Regions from separate parts of the Homo sapiens genome. Here regions 2 and 3 are each linked to region 1. Evidence: promoter capture Hi-C in human tissues and cell types (Jung and others, 2019). All regions are on one chromosome and are shown on one strand. Each heading gives the region's core, a stretch centred on a gene start or on the middle of the fragment in contact. The rest is flanking DNA. Distances are from core to core; before and after follow the strand shown.

What was found. The method cuts DNA at HindIII sites, captures the fragments that hold promoters and counts their contacts. A contact is called where the count stands out against the background at its distance.
Region 2: a contact is called between a fragment that was not itself captured here and the fragment with the promoter of FFAR4 in region 1, in 3 of the 25 tissues and cell types used here (H1 embryonic stem cells, IMR-90 fibroblasts and spleen).
Region 3: a contact is called between a fragment that was not itself captured here and the fragment with the promoter of FFAR4 in region 1, in 2 of the 25 tissues and cell types used here (heart right ventricle and pancreas).

What each region holds. Positions count from the first base shown.
Region 1 is chr10:93,565,279-93,568,174 of GRCh38, reverse strand. FFAR4 (free fatty acid receptor 4) reads right to left here and starts at 1,510. Exons shown (of 3, transcript NM_001195755.2): 1 at 888-1,510. The coding sequence starts at 1,454. RefSeq lists an enhancer at 1,270-2,108. The HindIII fragment of the contact is 11,697 bases long and covers 1-2,896 here.
Region 2 is chr10:93,750,096-93,752,991 of GRCh38, reverse strand. The region is part of intron 1 of LOC101927013 (a long non-coding RNA gene); the gene reads left to right. Among named protein-coding and RNA genes, the nearest start is that of LGI1, 6.4 kb to the left of the region's middle. The HindIII fragment of the contact is 5,661 bases long and covers 1-2,896 here.
Region 3 is chr10:93,409,838-93,412,733 of GRCh38, reverse strand. The region is part of intron 5 of MYOF (myoferlin); the gene reads left to right. Among named protein-coding and RNA genes, the nearest start is that of MYOF, 71 kb to the left of the region's middle. The HindIII fragment of the contact is 3,899 bases long and covers 1-2,896 here.

The DNA.
Region 1 (2,896 bases), core at 261-2,760:
ACCACCGGGCAAAGCGGCAAGAGAAAAAGACCCGAGCTCGGGATTCCGGACCGCGGGACTTGAGGGGAACAGAGCCAATGTCCTGCACTATCCGCAGAACCTTATTCCGATCATGGTCACTCCCACCCCTATGAGCTAATAATGACAACTATTGACCCGCTATGTAAAACAGAGCTCGTCGGTCCAGCCTCTGTAATCTGCACATTTCAGGCGCCCAGGACACCTCGAAGGTCTAGTGTAATCCTTCCGTTTTGCAGCTGAAAAAACTGAAGACCCCGGAAGGGAATTCTGTCACAAGTCCCCTAAAGACAGCATTGCATCTGGGGTCCCCGGGTCTCACATGCCTGTCCGCGCGCTTTCAAAGCAGGACCATAACCCAACCCTGGACAGGAGCCCAACTCCTCCTTGAATTACGGGTAAACTTCTGGAAGGAGCCCATCTCCTCCTCGAATTACGGATAAAATACTCTGGGCAAGTTATTATACACTTCGGTGTGCCTCTGGTTCTCATCTGTGAAATGGGTGTGATAATAACAGTATTGTAGCACCTGGCGAGGAATCATGATTCAATACAAAGTGTTTGGCCACCCTGCACCCCCAAAGTTCCGTCTCGCTCCTAAACTACTCGTTAATTAACCTCGCAACAGTCATTGCATTTTGCAAGAATTTGGGGGACTCCACTTACATCATTTAGGAGGGCGTGTGCACAGCGTTGTAGTGAGATTTAAGAGATTAAACTTCACAGCCATGGGCACAAGATTTGGCACAACGATTAAGTGCAATAAATGGCTATTGTTGTTCTTGATCATCCTCATCCCAGCTTCCGTCGGGGCCCCGCTTCCCAGCCTGCGCAGGACACCTGCCCGGCACACACAGAGGGGCGCTCACCTGGTCGGCGCCGGGGAGCCGTTGCGGGACGACTCGGAAGAAGACGCAGAGAGGCAGAGCGGCGACCGCCGAATAGCCCCAGATGAGCGCCAGCAGCACTGCCCGCGCCCGCCGCCCAGGACCCCGCACGCCGCGCTGCAGGTGCACGATGCACACCATGCGCTCCAGGCTGACCGCGGCCAGCGTGAGGATGGTGACGCTGCCGCTCAGGGTCATCACGTAGAAGAGCAGGTGGCAGGCAACGGGGCCCAGCAGCCAGGCCTCAGTCCAGCGCACGGCCAGCACCAGAGGGATAGCGCTGATGAAGAGCAGGTCCGCGCAGAAGAGGTTGAGTACCAGGCAGGCAGTCGCGCCGCGGCGTCGTCGGCGCGCCACCAGCACCAGGGCGCACACGTTGCCCAGCAGCGACACTGCAAAGATGAGCACCAGCACGGTTGTCTCCACCGCGGCCAGCACCAGCCGGTGGTCGCCCTTGACGTCGGAGAAGAAGGGAAAGCGGGTGCGGTTGGCTTGCTCCAGGCTGCGCAAGGGCGCGTCGCCCGCTGCCCGCGCGCATTCAGGGGACATTCCCGGCGCCTGGCGGCCCGCAGCGGTCTGAGAGAGTGCTCATCTGGGAGGCGACTGAGTGCCAAGGCGGGGAAAGAGGGAGGGAGGCGGTTGCGACATCTCGCCTCTGGCCCCCTCCCTTCTGAGGAGCGCCAGCACTGGGTGCAGGGAGCTGCACCCGGGGCGCGCGGGAACCAGGAAGTGCCCGGCAACACTGGCCGCGAACACCGCAGCTGGCCGGGGAGGTGGCGGCCAAGGCGGAAGCCTCGTGCCCTCTGGCCCTTTGAAAGTGTATCCAGAAGCCAGAAAACTCACTTAGCGAATTCCTCGAGCCCCCGCAGGGCCTGCCCAACCTCCTTTATTTTTCAGGGACACTGGATGTGCGAAGCCTTTTGTGAACGGATTTAGCTAAAATTGATTTAAAAGGGTCAGAGCTGGCCTTTGGAGATTATTTTGGCCTGTGTCGTTCAGGCTTTACTAAAGAAACTCCATGGGTCTGGAGGTAGATCCTAAAACAACTTGTAATGAGTCCATATTTTTTGTGGGGGAGAGAGGGAGTGGAGATCTTTTATCACTACTTAATAACAGGTCTTTAGGTGGATTATCTACTCCCTCTACCCCAGATTTTTAATCTATAAAATGGGAATAATAATACCCCATTAGGTTATTGTGAGGCTCACCTAGAGTTTTGCACACTTGGCACACAGTAATTACTCGTTAAATGTTATCAAATATTAGTTATTGTAACTAAAATGCATATACATTTTGCATTCTGAACAATGACATAAATGCTTTCTTATAAAAAGAGTGAGTCCTTCCAAAATTTTTAATAAACTTGCCATCCAAGGAAGACAGATATTTCAAGGCTGGCAGATTCACACACAAGCTATGAATGTGCCCCAGGTGCCACAGTTTGAGGAGCACTGGGCAATCCAGTCCCGTTAGAGATAAGGAAACTGAGGCCCAGCCAGAGTGACTTGTCTAAGCTGTCCTCTGGTTAGTAATGAAAGCCAGTCACCTGTCCCCGTCCCACACATTTCCATCACACCACTGCAGTCTCGTTTTCTGTAAATGAGGAAGCTGGAGATGGAAAAGTATGCCTGTGGCCTAAGATCCAGTGGCCACTTCCCCAACCAGCCACCCTCCTGCCACCCACACCTTCACCCCCTCTTCCCTCTGCCATATTACCAGGCCTCTCCCAGTTGCCCACTCTGTCTTCTAATTGTCTTTCTTAAGGTTGGGTCTTAAGAAATCTAAGCACTGACTGGGCACAGTGGCTCATGCTTGTAATCTCAGCACTTTGGGAGGCCAAGGCGGGTGGATCACTTGAGGTCGGGAGCTCCAGACCAGCCATGGCCAACGTGGTGAAACCCCGTCTCTACTAAAAATACAAAAATTAGCTGGGCATGGTGGCAGGTACCTGTAATCCCAGCTACTTGGAAGGCTGAGGCAGGAGAATTGCT
Region 2 (2,896 bases), core at 189-2,688, 180 kb before region 1:
AGTGTAAAAGGACCTTGTTGCCATGGTGATTGAGTGACTCACAGAATCCAAGGAAGGGTTGACCAAGCAGGATTTAGAATGAAGGAACTTGTGAAAGCTTGGGAATCTATGTGGCAGGAGCTAATGGATGATGCCCTCTGGCAAATTCAGTCCAACCTGTTCTTATCCTTATGTTCCTCCCCAAAAGATGAGTATGGTGGACTGATCTTGGGTCAGGCACCCCTGCCCATTGCCCTGGGAAAGTGGGGCACCTTGACTGGCAATCTCACCAAGAGTGCACATGGTGGGAGAGAGGTGGTTCCACAAAAGCAAGTTGGGTACTGCTGTCAGAGCAGAGAGAACAGGCTGGGCAGGTGAAATCCAGCGATGCTCATTTGGGTAGGAGTGCTGGGCTCTGATAGCTAATATCATTGGCCCTTGCCCCTAACTCAACCTTATGGTTTTAAAGAGAAATGACCAGAAGACAATTTAGACAAATAGATATGAATACTTTCTCCAAGGACAGCTAAACTCGCATGTTCTAACTGTGGAATCAGGGGATTTTCACCTTTTATAGTCCATGAGAATAGAACTTGGGCCAAGAAAGGGGTTGAGAAGTAATAATAATGAAAGCTGACTCTTATAAAATGCGTATTATGTGCCAGCTGCCATTCTAAAGCACTTTACCCATATTAACTCACTTAATCCTCATAACAATCCCATGGGCTAGATAGATATTACTATTATTTCCCCTATATTAGCAGAAAAGGAAACAGAGGGTCAGGAGGTTAAGTCGTGTGCCCAGGGTCCTGTAGCTAGTGAAAGGTGGTGCTGGTATCGAAATTAGGTGTCCTGGCTCTGATGTCCACAGCATTAGCCACTGCTGGACACTGCCTCTCTGATGGGCTGTGTGGAATGAGGGATACCGTGAGCTGCTTCGGAGCTGGTAGCACCTCACTGGCTGGGCGCTACTATTGTACTACAATTCCCAGCATGCAACTGGGCTGGCTATCATCTTAACCCCTTCTTCACCAAAAGTTCCTCACTGTCTTGGGTAAAATCTTTTTTATTGGCAAAATCTGATCTCCCTCATGGATAATTATGCAATTGAGGCATAAATGTAGATATAAGTGGCAGCAGATAGGGGAGAGGGTAAGATTCTAAGTTAAAGTACCCTCCACATTTTTTAGTATTTGAAGGAAGACATTGGAGATTACTATGGGAAAGATTTTTTAACTTAGAAATGTGTACTATGAAAACGTCGATGGGGATGTTTTAAAGCACCCATTCTCAAAGTTGGCTACACTTTCGAATCACCTGGGGAATTAAAAAAAATACTTAAAGTTTGGGTCACATTCCTAGAGGTTCTGATTTAATTGGTCTAGGGTATGGCTGTTAAAAGCTCCCTATGAAATTCTAGAGAGTTCCCCATGGGTATAAAACAGGAGGCACAGCTTGTCATGCAGTGGGGGCATATGGGGAAGCATCAGGGCTGGTCAGGGGCCCGAGGGAGCAAGGGGAAAATGCAGACAAGAGCCTTTATTGTGATTTCTGCAGGAATGGTAATGCAAGACAGGGTAAACAGGCTCAGGATTGGCTCCTTTGAATAAGTTCAGTGAACTTTGGGGCACAGGGACTGTCCCTAGTTGTCTGTTACTGGCCCTGGGGTGATTAGAGTAGGTGGATGGTGGCCCCGAGAGACGGCCCAATAAAGGAAGTGATTGGGGGTATGGATACTGGATCGGTTGGTTTGCATAGGAAAGGTGCGCCCTCCCACGTGAGTCATTTACTGTTTCTCGGAATTGGCTAACCCTGGGAGTGGCAGTCCCTCCAGGGTCATCAGCACAGCCCCAGGTGTCAAAGCATCAGGATACAGAAAATTTAAAAACATGTTGAATGTATCCTTCCACTCTTCAGCAGAAAGCAGCTGACCGGGCTTAAAGAGAACTGGGAAGAGCTTGAAGCCTGGGGAACCATCCCATTAGGAATGGTGGTCTGCAGGGAAGGAAGCAGGAGGGCTAGTGAAACAAGGAGAATTTCAGCCATGGCTCTATTTAGTTTATCAAGATTCCAAACCTGTCACGGAATGACACCCAAGCGAATGGGAAGAAAGGCGGCAAGTTCTGCCTTTAAAAGCCTCCTTGTAGAGACCTCCGCACTCCCATGTTTACTGCAGCACTATTCGCAATAATCAAGATATGGAATCAAGTTAGATGTCCAACAACAGATGAATAGATAGAGAAAATGTAGCATATACACACCATGGAATACTATTTAGCCATTAAAAAACAGTGAAATCCTGCCATTCATGGCAACATGGATGTTGGAACTGGAGGACGTTATGTTAACGGAAATAAGCCAAAAACAGAGAGTTAAACACCACATGTTCTCATTCATACGTGGAAGCTTAAAAAAGTTGATCTCATAGGAGTAAAAAGTAGAACAGAGGATACTAGAGGCTGGGAAGGGTAGGGGGAGGTGGAGGGCATACAGAAAGTTTTGTTAAAGGACATAAAATTACAACTAGATAGGAGGAATAAGTTCTAGCGTTCTATACCACTGTAGAATGACAATAGTTAACAATAATAGAGTTTCAAATAGCTAGAAAGAGGATATTGAATGTTCCCAACACAAAGAAATGATAAATATCTGAGATGATGGATATGCTGATTACCCTGATGTATCAAAACATCGCTATGTGCCCCATGCATATGTACACTTATTATTTGTCAATTAAAAAATAAATATTTAAGAAAGCCTCCTTGAAGGCAGTACCCACAATTTATTTATCTTTTTATGCCCTTGATTAAATGATCATTACCTAGCAGAAACAGTTAAAATGGTCTTATAAAAGAGAAAAGTTAGTTTAGAGATGTGGGCTGGTACTTTGCTCTTAAAAAATAGAGTTTTTCTTAAT
Region 3 (2,896 bases), core at 172-2,671, 160 kb after region 1:
ATCAAGCACTTTCTATATACTTTGTGTAATGAGTTCTGTAAGGCATGGGGCAGAAACAAAGAAGCAAAGGCAAGCTCCTTGCTTCTGAAATGCCTGGGAGTAGGGGAAGCCTATGGGTTGACAAGCAGGTGCAAGACTATGTGGTGAGGACTAGAAAGAACAATGTGTGGCGGGTAGGAGAGAGCGGGACTAACTCCATCTGGAAGAGGTGGGGAGGGCATGTTGGAAGACAGTAAGTTTCATCTGAAACTTAAGAAGGAGAGGAACTTACCTGGTAGAGAGTAGGATGAAGAAGATTCCAAGAGCTTGGATCCAGGTGCCCTAAGAGAGACAGCAGGTAAGCCCTTCTTTTGAAGTCTCTTCAAGAATAGGCAAGAGGAGGTCCAGATCATCTTGCAGAGGACAAAGATTCCTTATCTTTGACTTCCATGAGGTTTTCCCAGTAGCCTGAAAAAGATGTTGAGGTACTAGGAGCATAACATGTCCTTCACCTACAGCCTGGTTTTAAACCCAGTTTTATACCAGAGAGGCAGTGTGAAAACTTGGTCCTGGTTTTAGCTCAGCTTCTAATAACTTAACCACAGGCAAGTTGCCTTAGCTTTCTGGACCTCAGTTTTTCTGTCTGTAAAATGGGGTGAAGGGTAGGTTGGATCAAGGATCTCTAAGGTCCCTTCTAGGACAACATTCTGTGGGTCCATGGCTACTTGAAGGAAGTGTGAAGTGAGGATCTACAGAGTGTTGAGTCAAAGGATCAGAGGACAGAGTAGGGAGTCACACTCAGTGAGTAGGAGACAAAAACAGGGGCCCACAGAAGAACCTGAAAAAGCAGATCGGGGGAGGAGAGCTGCAATGATCTAAAAATATGTATATGAGCACTGGTGTCCAAGGCTGTGGAAGATCCAATATGGAGATACAGAAAAGGGCACGGAGCTTGGCAAAGAGAGGTGATTGACTTTTGAAGAACAGAAGCCAGGCTAGGATGGGCGAAGCATGAATGAATGGATGATGAGGAGCAGGGCCCACCCTGGGCTAAATTGCAAAGCAGTGCATGTGGAGGCCCCCTTTTCCCTTGTGGCTGCCTCTTCCTCACTTTGGGACCCCTGCCTGCTGTGCTGCCCATGGACTGCTCCAGTGCCCCATCCCCACACCCCCCATAGCTGGTTCCAGGAAGTGTCCTGTGCTCCAGAAGAAGCCCCTTCCAATTGCAGTGGTCTGAATGGTTGTGTCCCTCCACAATTCACACATTGAAATCCTAACCCTGAACGTGATGATATTAGGCAGTGAGGCCTTTAGGGAGGTGATTAGGTCACGGGGCCAGAGCCCTCATGCATGGGATTAGTGCCGTGATCAAAATGGGCTCAAGGGAGCTCCTTTGCTTCTTCCATCATGGGAGGCAGAGAAGGCTCCAACTGCAAACCAAGAAGTGGGCCCTCACCAGACACTGAATCCGCCGGTGCCTTGATCTTGGACTTCCCCACCTCCAGAACTGTGAGAAATAAATTTCTGTTTTCTAAAAGCCACCCAGGTTGTGGTATTTTGTTATAGCAGCCCAAGCAGGTGAAGACACCAACCAAAACTGATTACACAGCAAAACTAAAAAATAAACAGTTAATTTATTGGGTGCTTCTGTATGCCAGATACTGTGCTAAAGGCTTCGCCTATAGATAATTACACCTTTACAGTAACCCTGTGGTAAATACTATTATTTTCCCCTCTTTACAAATGAAGAAACTGAAGCTTAGAGAAATTAAGAAACTTACTCAGACTCACATAGCTCGAAAGTGGAGGGTGGGGAGTGGATTGAGCCTAGGCCACGTGGCTTCAGAGCCCAAGATTTCAAGAGCTATGCTACATAGTAATCTGATGAAACTCATTCATACCAGGATGTGAATGACTGACAGGTGACTGTCCTTGGAAATTAAATCTCTTTCATAATCTTGCATCGTAGAGAAGGAGTTTCAGAATCCAAAAGCAGGGTTCTAGACAGGGTGGCTTGTCTTCTAGGCTCTCTTAGATTATATTGTACAGATTACCAGAAGTTCTAACTCTTTGTGTATTAAGAAAAGAAAAGCTAAAGTTTGTCAGCGAGTTTCAAAGAGCTCGTGAATAAAAGAAAGAGGAGAGGTAGTAGGCAGAGTTGATTTTTGGTTTTTGGTTTTGTAGGGAGAGAAAGATCTGTGTCTACTTGAAGGCAGAGGAAAAGCTGCAATAGAGACGGAACCCCCAGAGGTACACAAGAGAGAGGAGACATTTGGGGAGCCTGAAAATAATCAGGAGGTAGTAGGATCTGCAAATATTCAGGAGGTAGCAGGATCTAATGCATGGCAGAGGGTTGAGATTTTCACTCTGCTGAGCAGGGTAAACCTTTTCCTGAGTGCAGAGGGAAGGTAGAGGGATAAAGGAGGGGACACGTGTGTGTTAAAGTGACAAACCAGGAGGAGGAAGGAAGAGCAAGATGATCACCTTGGTGCTTGGCAAGAAAATGAGGAGAGTTTCTCTTCTGCCATTAGGGTGGAAAGAGCAGTTGTGAATTAGGAGGCTCAAGCAGGAAACAGTACAAATAGATCACGAGCAGATCTCTAGAGAGAAGATCTGCAGTGGGAGGGATGGAGTTGAAGCTTGTCATTGCAAGACTGCAGTGTTCCGTGATGTTTCTTCCTTTTTCCATCCTAACACTAATGAGAACTCAGCAATCCCTGGCTGGGTCCAACGGTGCCATCTCCTCTCATTGTCCCTGTGATCTCTGCCATTCTCTTGGTCTCTTCGAAGGCAACCTGAGCAACAGCCCCGATGTACTGTGAACACATTTTCCTAAAGAATTTTTCCAAGTCACAAGAAGTCCCAAGTCAGTGTCACCAAGAGGATCTCCTTCACCTGCCACTTTAGGAACACTTAA